Linked DNA regions of Homo sapiens: all the other regions are linked to region 3. The links are contacts of gene promoters, found by promoter capture Hi-C in blood cells and fetal thymus (Javierre and others, 2016). All regions are on one chromosome and are shown on one strand. The core of a region is centred on a gene start or on the middle of the fragment in contact, and the rest is flanking DNA. Distances in the headings are between cores, read along the strand shown. Region 1 overlaps GRSF1 (G-rich RNA sequence binding factor 1). Region 2 has its middle 2.4 kb from the start of DCK. Region 3 holds the start of YTHDC1 (YTH N6-methyladenosine RNA binding protein C1).

What was found. Contacts are between HindIII fragments. The CHiCAGO score rates a contact against its expected background, and 5 or more counts as called.
Region 1: a contact is called between a fragment that was not itself captured here and the fragment with the promoter of YTHDC1 in region 3, in 1 of 17 cell types (total CD8 T cells). The highest score is 6.3, in total CD8 T cells.
Region 2: a contact is called between a fragment that was not itself captured here and the fragment with the promoter of YTHDC1 in region 3, in 1 of 17 cell types (total B cells). The highest score is 6.0, in total B cells.

The regions. Positions count from the first base shown.
Region 1 is chr4:70,829,593-70,833,013 of GRCh38, reverse strand. GRSF1 (G-rich RNA sequence binding factor 1) reads left to right here. Exons shown (of 10, transcript NM_002092.4): 4 at 564-707; 5 at 1,340-1,475. Among named protein-coding and RNA genes, the nearest start is that of GRSF1, 8.6 kb to the left of the region's middle. The HindIII fragment of the contact is 4,925 bases long and covers 1-3,421 here.
Region 2 is chr4:70,989,509-70,992,896 of GRCh38, reverse strand. No RefSeq gene overlaps it. Among named protein-coding and RNA genes, the nearest start is that of DCK, 2.4 kb to the left of the region's middle. The HindIII fragment of the contact is 1,907 bases long and covers 1,088-2,994 here.
Region 3 is chr4:68,348,792-68,352,056 of GRCh38, reverse strand. YTHDC1 (YTH N6-methyladenosine RNA binding protein C1) reads left to right here and starts at 1,967. Exons shown (of 17, transcript NM_001031732.4): 1 at 1,967-2,331. The coding sequence starts at 2,304. RefSeq lists an enhancer at 2,019-2,598. The HindIII fragment of the contact is 7,711 bases long and covers 1-3,265 here.

The DNA of each region.
Region 1 (3,421 bases), core at 742-3,241, 2.5 Mb before region 3:
GAATGCATTCTTTTATAGGATGTGAAAATAAAACATAAAGAGATAAAGTTTCTTTTTTTTGTGGGGGGGATGGAATCTCACTCTGTCACCCAGGCTGGAGTGCAGTGGTGCGATTTCAGCTCACTGCAACCTCTGCCTCCTGGGTTCAAGCAATTCTCCTGTCTCAGCCTCCCAAGTAGCTGGGACTACAGGCACATGCCATGATACCCAGCTAATTTTTGTATTTTTATTAGAGATGGGGTTTTACCATATTGGTCAGGCTGGTCTCAAACTCCTGACCTCAGGTAATCCACCCGCCTTGGCCTCCCAAAGTTCTGGGATTATAGGCGTGAGCCAGTGTGCCTGGCCAATGAAGTATCTTACAAGCTGTGAGAAATAAAGAAGTTATGCCCGCATGGTAAATATGCAATAAATGTCATTTGTTATTTTCTCTAGAGAAGCGCATAAAGATTAAAATAGTTATTGAATTCTCAGATAACCCAGCAAGTTGTAATGATTTTTTTTAATGGGTTTGTTCCTTTGTTATGTAAATTTTTCATCCCTGTTGGGTTTTTTCTTCGTAGTATATGAGATAAACAATGAAGATGTGGATGCCTTAATGAAGAGCTTGCAGGTCAAATCTTCGCCTGTGGTAAATGATGGTGTGGTTCGTTTGAGAGGACTTCCTTATAGTTGCAATGAGAAAGACATTGTAGACTTCTTTGCAGGTACTTTGCAGTTGTATTATGCTTGGGAGCTCATATCTTTTTTCCCTTGGTATCTCCTTCTATATCTTAGATGAGCCTGTTTCTGGGCAAAGGCATGCAGTTATATTAGGTTCTTTAGGGGAGAGCTCTTCACTTAAATTTCTAATATTTATAGATTTTATATGTGTTTTTGTTCTATCAGGCAGATTTTAGGAGGGAAGTCAGATTTCAGAATAATTTCATGAGGGTTTTACTATTGAAGGAAATAACTTCTCATAATAGTTGCTGTATTTGTGTAAGACAATAACAATTTATATAATTTAAAAGTATTTTCTAATTCCTAGAACCATTAGCAGTGAAGTCTGTGATTTCTATTGTTTCCTAGTATATAATTAACAGCAAAAAAAAAAAAAAAAACTGGTGGGGAGAATTGTATGTTTTGGGTGGGCTTCTTGGACCTTACCTATTCTGGAAATACAAGTATGTAGGTGTTGACTGACTTTTGACTGCATAATAATTTTCTTCCTGTCAAGCATGTATTCAGTTTTGGGACTGGCAAAACAGAATAAAAATTTTATTAGTATGTGAATGATGGTGTTAATTCTAAGGATAAAAAAGCCTGCTAGTAGCATTAAAATCTCTTGGTGTCCTAGGACTGAATATAGTTGACATTACTTTTGTGATGGACTATAGAGGGAGGCGAAAAACAGGGGAAGCCTATGTGCAATTTGAAGAACCAGAAATGGCCAACCAAGCCCTGTTGAAACACAGGGAAGAAATTGGTAATCGGTGAGTAAAGCAGATACTAATGATGCAGAAGTGTTACACATTAAGTCATTTTGATGAATGTGCTGTAATATGACTGAAAAGTTATCCAAACATAGAAAAGTAGAGAGAGTAGTGTAGTGAGCCATCAAATGCCCATAATTTAGATTAACAATTTTTTTTCGACTGCTCCTTTTTTTTTTTTTTGAGACAGAGTTTCACTCTTTTTGCCTAGGCTAGAGTGCAATGGCACGATCTTGGCTCACTGCAACCTCTGCCTCCCTGGTTTAAGCGATTCTCCTGCCTCAGCCTCCCAAGTAGCTGGGATTACAGGCGCCTGCCACCATGCCCGGCTTTTTTTGTATTTTTAGTAGAGACGGGGTTTCACCATGTTGGCCAGGGTGGTCTCGATCTCTCGACCTTGTGATCCGCCCGCCTCGGCCTCCCAAAGTGCTGGGATTACAGGCGTGAGCCACCGCATCCGGCTTGACTGCTCCTTGTGGGGCAGGGACTAACCCATAGACAGAGTACCTAGAGCAGCTAGATTAACACATTTATATATAAAATGTAACATCTGTTATATTTGCTTCATCTGGGTTTTTTTTAGTATGCATCTTTTAAAAAAATTTTTTTACATAATTTCAATGTTATATCTAACACTGTTAGCAATAGTATATTATCTAATAACAGTTCATAATAGCATTTTCCCAATTATACCAAAAATAGCCTTTTTTTTTTTGGCAACGGAGTTTCACTCTGCCGCCTAGGCTGGAGTGCGGTGGTGTGATCTTGGCTCACTGCATCCTCTCTCTGCCTCCCAGTTTCATGTGATCCTCCTGCCTCAGCCTCCTGAGTAGCTGGAACTAGAGGCATGCGCCACCATGCCCAGCTAAGTTTTGTATTTTTAGTAGAGACAAGGTTTTACCATGTTGGCCAGGCTGGTCTAGAACTCCCGGACTCAAGTCATTCACCCACCTCGGCCTCCAAAAGTGCTGGGATTACAGGTGTGAGCCAGCACACCGGACAAAAATACAGAATCCAGATAAGGTCTACACACTGCATTTGATTGTTATGTCCATAATTCTCTGTGTGTGTGTGTGTTTTTTTTTTTTTTTTAAGACACAGGGTCTTATTCTGTCACCCAGGCTGGAGTGCAGTGGCATGATGATAGCTCACTACAGCCTTGAATTCCTGGGCTCAAGCAATCGTCTCGCCTCATCCTCCCAACTAGCTAGAACAATAGGCATGTGCCGCCACACCTGGCTGTGTGTATGTGTGTGTGCGTGCGTGCGTGTGTGTTTGTAGGTGGGGTCTTGCTGTGTTGCCCTGGCTGGCCTCAAACTCATGGGCTCAAGTGATCGCCCGCTTTGGCTTCCCAAAACGCTAGGATTACAGGTGTGAGCCACTGCACCTGACCACTGATTCTCTTGAACTAGAGCAAATCCCCCTTACTTATTCTTCCCCCCTTTTTAAAAGCAATTGACTTTTGAAGAAATTAGATCAGTTGTCTTGTACAGTATCTCATGTTGACATCACCTCAGGATGCACATGATGATAAGTGGGTTCATTTGTGTTTTAACTTTAACTTTGGAGGTACAGTTTAAAATGTCAAATGTTAAATCACTGTTTCGTTAATTTTTTTTTTTACTGTTTTCTGGCCTTTTAAATCAGCTCCTTTGAAGTAAACAAAACAGCCATTCCAAAGCCAGTGTTTCAGGATCTACTGATAGAAGTGGTTCAAAGGTTTTTTGGTTTTTTGAGACAGGATCTTGCTCTGTCACCCAGGCTGAAGTGCAGTGCCACAAACACTGCTCATTTCAGCCTTGACCTTCTGGGCTCAAGCAGTCCTGCCATCTCAGCTTTCCTTGTAGCTGGTACCACAGGCATGCATCACCATGCCTGGCTAATTTTAGACAGAGTCTTATTCTGTTACCCTCGCTGGAGTGCAGTTGTGTGATACAGCTCACTGC
Region 2 (3,388 bases), core at 792-3,291, 2.6 Mb before region 3:
TAGGTAGGTTTCTGTTCAGCTGTTAACTCAGCCTGCCCGACACCTGGCACATAGGTAACAAAATGTACTGTATGTTGAATTTTTGAATGCCTACTCATGTGCCATGTACTCTGCTAGAATACTCATCTAGATGGGACAAATGCAGTGTAGGATTTGTCCCAGCTAGATGAGTGCATTTTTAGTCAGGGTAAAGACCTAATGAGGCAAGAGAATAGGGAATTAGGGTAACCAAGGGTTAAGGCATAAGCAAAAGAACAGCAGGTGCAGCAATTTCTAGGCAAGACTAGGCAGCATACAGGCCACACCTTCACTCCTGTGATTACAAGACAGAAGTTTCCACATCGCCTCTGATTGTCCTCGGCCATCTCCATTTCAGCCTCTGATTGGTCGCAGGCCAATCCTTCATAGGGTGCAACCAATTGGACGACTGTAAAGGGCACCTAGGGATTTACCAAATTCTTTTAGCCTAGTAACCCTTAAGAACACTGCAATTGGGACTCTTGAAGCACTTGGTTCGCTTCAATAAATTTGTGCTTTTGTTACTTCGTTCTTTTGTTGTTTTGTCTTTCGTTGCTTCTTTTGTTGCTTTGTTTCTACGTTTTGTTCAATTCTTTGTTCAACACGCCAAAAACCCAGACAACTCAGTCAAGACTTCCCATCCAGTAACACTAATAAACCGGATATTACCCAGTCTGGAAGTTATCTGGTCCAAATTGTCTACAGAAACCAAAGGCCTTGCTATTCTTTTTTACATTGCAACTATCATCAGACCTGAAATGCATCTAAATGTGTAGCCAGAAGGGGAAAACGGTGACTCCATCCTCAGAAATAAAGAGCAGAAATTAAAATGTGAATCCTCGGGGATCACATTTTCCAGGATTAAACAGCAAGAATCATTCTATGTAACTGCCCTATATTATTCTGTTATGCAATTATTTTGTATATATTACTTTTACTTATCCCTATAGTGATTAATAGCAAGATCCTAGGAATATAAGAGGCCTGAAGAGTTGTCATCAGGTATAGCAAGGAAGTTGGGAGAAAGGTGCTGCGGAAGCTAATAGGTATCACATTTCACAGCCAAGCTTGGGGGAAAACTCATGAAATGGTAAGAGTACTGGCAGCTACCGAGAGGAGGAAGGCAAGTCTCTTGAGACCTTCAACAGGAAAGCAGAGCTGGTCCTGGATGGATGTCATAAAGAGGCTTGGGGTTAAGGAGTAGAAATCTCCAAGTGTGGTTTCCACAAAAAAGACCCACACAAGAAGTATCTTACAATGATGAAGAGTTTAAGCACTGGAAAATGAAAGATTTCAAACACCAGTTCTACCAGTTTCTGGCTGCAAAAACTTGAATTCATCTGAGCTTAAGAGTATACTTTGAAAAATACAAATGTGGGAGGCCGAGGCAGGTGAATCGCTTGAGCCCAGGAGTTTGAGACTAGCCTGGGCAACATGGCAAAACTCTTGTCTCTACAAAAAATAGAAAAATTAGCCAGGCGCCTGTAGTCCCAACTATTTGGGAGGCTGAGGTGGGAGAATTACCGAAGCCAGGGAGTCAAGGCTGCAGTGAGCCAAGATCATGCCACTGTACTCCAGTGAGATCCTGTCTCAACTAACAACAACAAAGTAAATGGGGGAAGCAAAGAATCTAGCTTTTTTGGCATTAAGTCCAGCATAATTTCCCATTTTCCTACATGACCTGGGGGTAACACAAGGAGAGAACAGAGAAAAGCACTTTTCAAAACATCTTGATTTTTGGTCCACAATCTCTTATCTAAAACCCTGGCAGCCAGATGTTTCAGAATTTAAAACTTTTAGAAAAGATTTTTAGAAAAGAAATTCTAAACTTTGGAACTGGCTGGACGCAGTGGCTCTTGCCTATAATCCCAGCACTTTGGGAGGTACTCTGGAATGCTTGAGCTCAGGAATTCGAGACCAACCAGGGAAACATGGCGAAACTAATAGAAAAAATACAAAAATTAGCTGGTTGTGGTGGCACACACCTGTGGTCCCAGCTACTCAGGAGGCTGAGGTGGGAGGATGGTTTGGGCCTGCAAAGTTTTAGCTTTAGTAAGCTATGATCGCGCCACTGCATGCCAGCCTGAGTGACACAGCAGCAAGACCCCGTCTCAATAATAAAATTTGGAATCGAAACTTTAGAAACGATACAGTGCATATACTGTATATTAATTATTAAGTAAGCACCCCCACTCCCCCTGCAGAGGTGTTAAATCAAATGCACTAATATTTTGCAGTGAAACAAAGAGTGTTAACATGAAGTGGGATAAAGACTATTAACATCTGGTCAGAATAAGTTTGCACTGAATTCAAAAAAAATACCTTTGGGGCCAAGCACGGTGGCTCACGCCTGTAATCCCAACACTGTGGGAGGCCGAGATGGACAGATTACCTGAGTTCAGGAGTTCGAGACCAACCTGGCCAACATGGCGAAACCCTGTCTCTACTAAAGATACAAAAACTAGCCGGGCGTGGTGGTGTGTGCCTGTGGTCCCAGCTACTCGGGAGGCTGAAGCTGGAGAATCGCTTGCACCCGGGAGGCGGAAGTTGCATTAAGCCAAGATCATGCCACTGCACTCCAGCCTGGATGAGAGTGAGACCCCGTCTCAAAAAAACAAACAAAAAAATTTTGGTTTTCTGAGCTTTTCAGGTTTTGAAACTGCAGATAAGAGACAGGATACAGCGCACCCAGCCAGTCATGATCGTGCTGCCACCTAATCCTTTCTTACCAGAAATTTTACTACTCCTTCAATTTGGGAATTTTCTCCTGTGGGAATTCTAGTGTAACTAAAGAATGAGACAGCGTTCTGACTGACAACATACAGGTTTATTAGGAAAACTAAATCAACCCAGAAAATAATAAAAAGCAGAAAAAATAAGAGACCCTGAACATTAAGTAGTGGTTACACAGCCCATGAGTTTGTCTACACAAACTCAACTACTTCTGTAAAATGATATTTATCAACTTAATAAGCTTGGTTATAAATTTCCCCTTGTAATCTTCATTAGTGCCTAGAAAACGGGGTACAGAAGCCATCATAAATGCAAGAGTGGGAGTCAGTGTGCTTCCTGCAAATCTGAAATCTGAAAGCAAAATAACATACTAGAAGAGCATAGGAGCCATCAGATGTATACAGCTTAGCAAAGAAAGCTGTTTTACTACATGCTTGTGAAGTGGACTGAGGTCATCAAGAAAATGTGACACTGTATTCATCATGCTGTAACAGGAGCATGTACAATTTCTTAGTAAAACTTCTACTAAACATGGTTGTTTAAACCTTAGAGGAATAATTAATTAGAATCTTTGTGTTGCAAAATGCTCATTGCAGATGTTATATAAGGGATTAACAACTTATAATACATTTAGTAC
Region 3 (3,265 bases), core at 718-3,217:
TTGTTAACTCATGGGTAGACTTGTTTAATCTATTCTCCTACCCATTTCGCTACACCTGCCACCAGTTTGATAAATCCCAGATACCATATAATTTCATTTGCAAATATTTATTACTATTCTTATTATTATTTTGAGACAGAGTCTAGCTCTGTTGTCCTGGTTGGGGTGAAAGTGGCACAATCTCAGCTCACTGCAACCTCCGCCTCCCGGGTTCAAGCAATTCTGCCTTAGCCTCCCGAGTAGCTGGGACTACAGGCGCATGCCATCATGCCTGGCTAATTTTTGTATTTTTAGCAGAGACGGGGTTTCACCATATTGGTCAGGCTGGTCTCAAACTCCTGACCACAGGTGATCCGCCCGCCTGGGCCTCCCGAAGTGCTGGGATTACAGGTATGAGCCACTGCATCTGGCCTGCAAATATTTTCATATGAATCATGAAATTATAAGAAATTCTTTAAAAAGCAAAACTTATTAAAACTAAAAATACAAATAGCAATTCCTCAGGATCATCAGATATTATTTAATGTGTGTGTGTGTGTGTGTTTGTGGCGTGTGCGTGTTCGTATATTCAAATTAGTGTTCAATTAAGGTCCTAGAAATGGGGCCACTCCTGGTGGCTTCACACCTGTAATCCCGCACTTTGGGAGGCCGAGGTGGGAGGATTGCTGGAGCCCAGGATTTAGACACTAGCCTGGGCAAGATGGCTAGGTGTTAGCCATCTTGCGGAGATGGTATATCTCCACAAAAAATGCAAAAAATGTGTCGGATGTGGTGGAGCATGCCTGTAGTTCCAGCTACCTGGGAGGTTAAGGTGGGAGGATCACTTGAGCCCAAGGTTGCAGTGAGCCATGATCACACCACTGCACTCCAGCCTGTGTCACAGTGAGACCACGTCTCAAAAAAAAAGAGGTACCACATTCTAGACTTCTAGACTACTTGTCTTTCCCTGAATATGCAGTTAGTTTGCCAGTTTGTCTTCATATCACGAAGTTACTTAGTTACCTTTTTCAGATTTTTCTTTCCCTTATAACTCAGTTATAGTTCAAGGAAGCAAAATTAGATTGTTTCCGTTGGACAATGAATCTTAAGCAAGTTTCTCTTGCAGATTTTACCACACTATGTAGTTATGTATCTACTGGTCATTTATTCTGTAGTTTCGATTCCTCGATGGTCTGCTTAAATCAATTTTGTGCCCCAGGGCCTTGATAACATGTTTAAATTAGTTATTAATTACAAAGACCTATTATGATACAATTCTTTCCCCAATTAAAAACAAAACTAGGCCGGGCGTGGTAGCTCACGCCTGTAATCCCAGCACTTCATCCTGGCCAACATGGTGAAATCCCGTCTCTACTAAAAATAAAAAAATTAACTGGGCGTGGTGGCGGGCGCCTGTAGTCCCAGCTACTCAGGAGGCAGAGCCAGGAGAATCGCTTGAACCTGGGAGGCGGAGGTTGCGGTGAGCCGAGATCGCGCTGCTGCACTCCAACCTAGCGACAGAGCGAGACTCCGTCTCAAAACAAACAAAAACTAGCAGGCTTTTGTGACTACAAACAAGCTGGTTGCATGCTGCACTGCCTTTGGGTAAGAGTGGAACTCCAACTAAGAAAGTACATCTGGTAAACATAAGGGATTCACCCAGACTTGTCCTAAATAAGACTCCGATTACCCGAACTGAATCAGGAGTCCTTTAGAGCGACTCTAGCTAAGAAGGCCTGTTAGGCCCTGCACTAAGAGTTTCAGGTGGGAAAATTGCGCCATCCAGTTATAGGCCGTACAGCGGGAACTCCATGAACAACCTGGGTAACCTAATCCCTGAATAAGACTCCTTCCAGGTACCAGTGGGCTGAGGGCGGCAGGGCGACGCGCTGACGTCACGTCACGTTCCTTTGCACGTCCCCGCCTCCCCGCCCCTCTCCGCACTGTGACGTTCCCAGAGAGGAACGAAGCGTAAACAGCGCAGGGCATTTCGGGAGCGGGATTGTTTCGCGCAGGAAGCAGGCTCCATTTTAGCGCCGCCCGCCGTCGCCATCTGTTTCCCTTCCCTCCCCCATACCTAGCCCGAGTCTGAGCCCTAACGAGAAGGCTGGGCCTAGGCCGCTGGATGCTGGAGTGAAAGGAAGGGAGAAAGGGAAAAAGCGGGAAGAGTCGAGAAGGCTGAGTGTTAAGAGGCCAAGTGCGACGCGCGTATCCGGGCAGACGGACTGACGGACGGGCCCGTGCTTCTGCCGCGGCTGCGGCGCCCGCGCGAGTCGCGTCTAAGCGGCGGCGGCGGTGGCAGCGGCGGAAACCGAAGGGGAGCCATGGCGGCTGACAGTCGGGAGGAGAAAGGTTAGTGCGGAGAAAGATGACGGGCCGAGGCGAGGCTGGGGCCCGGGAGTGGGGTGATGGAGCAGTGGTCGTCGTTGGGGGTGGGGGGTGGGGGTTGGGGAGGTTAGCTGGCCTCGCGAGGAGCCGGTGGCCCCCACCGAGACACTTAGACTCTGGCGGAGACCAGGCCTGCCCTTTCGTCCTCAGTCTCCATATGGCCTAGCACTTCATCTCAGTAGGGTTTTTCTTTGATGCGGATTTCACGCTTGACTTTCCGTTTAGCTGTCTTGGGCTGAGAGGGGCCCTTTCTGAGTTGCAAGCTCCTAGGTTTATTTCCTGGTAGGATCATGCGGATGTAACGCGTATTTTCAGGACAACCATTTCTGTTAGGCTAAAATTTGAAAACCCCTAATGCCGCGATCAACACTGGTGGTGTGGTAAGTGAGCAAGTTTAGGAAGTGGCACTGGCAGGTTATTAATCTTGAGAAATATCTGCAAATAACTTCTGGCTGTTCCTGTTAAATAGGCAAAGTGAATTACCCGTTTTGTTCCTCGAATACTTATTTTGGAAAAACATAGTACTTGGAAAAAGGAATACTTAGTTTGGAAAGATGACTGTGTGACTTAGGCTGGCAAAGAAATCCTGGGTGCTATTATGTTAGAAAAACCGTGTGTAGCTCCCAGAGGGTACAGTCAGAAACAAATGAATGCAAGTTACAGAGAGTTGGAGGGATAAATTTCAGTGAAATGTAGAGAGAACTGACGTTGCTGTAATGGAAAGATAGTAATACTAAGTTCCCAAGCCCTAGAGATATTAATGTAGGTCCTAGATCAGTGTCTCTCTGGAGAGTGGTCTAGATTAAATGCTGCTTTAAGATCTTTTTCAACCCTAAGATTAACATAATAGTCTTGGAAAGATTATAGTTAAAAATATGACACGGTCGCTGCTCTGTGT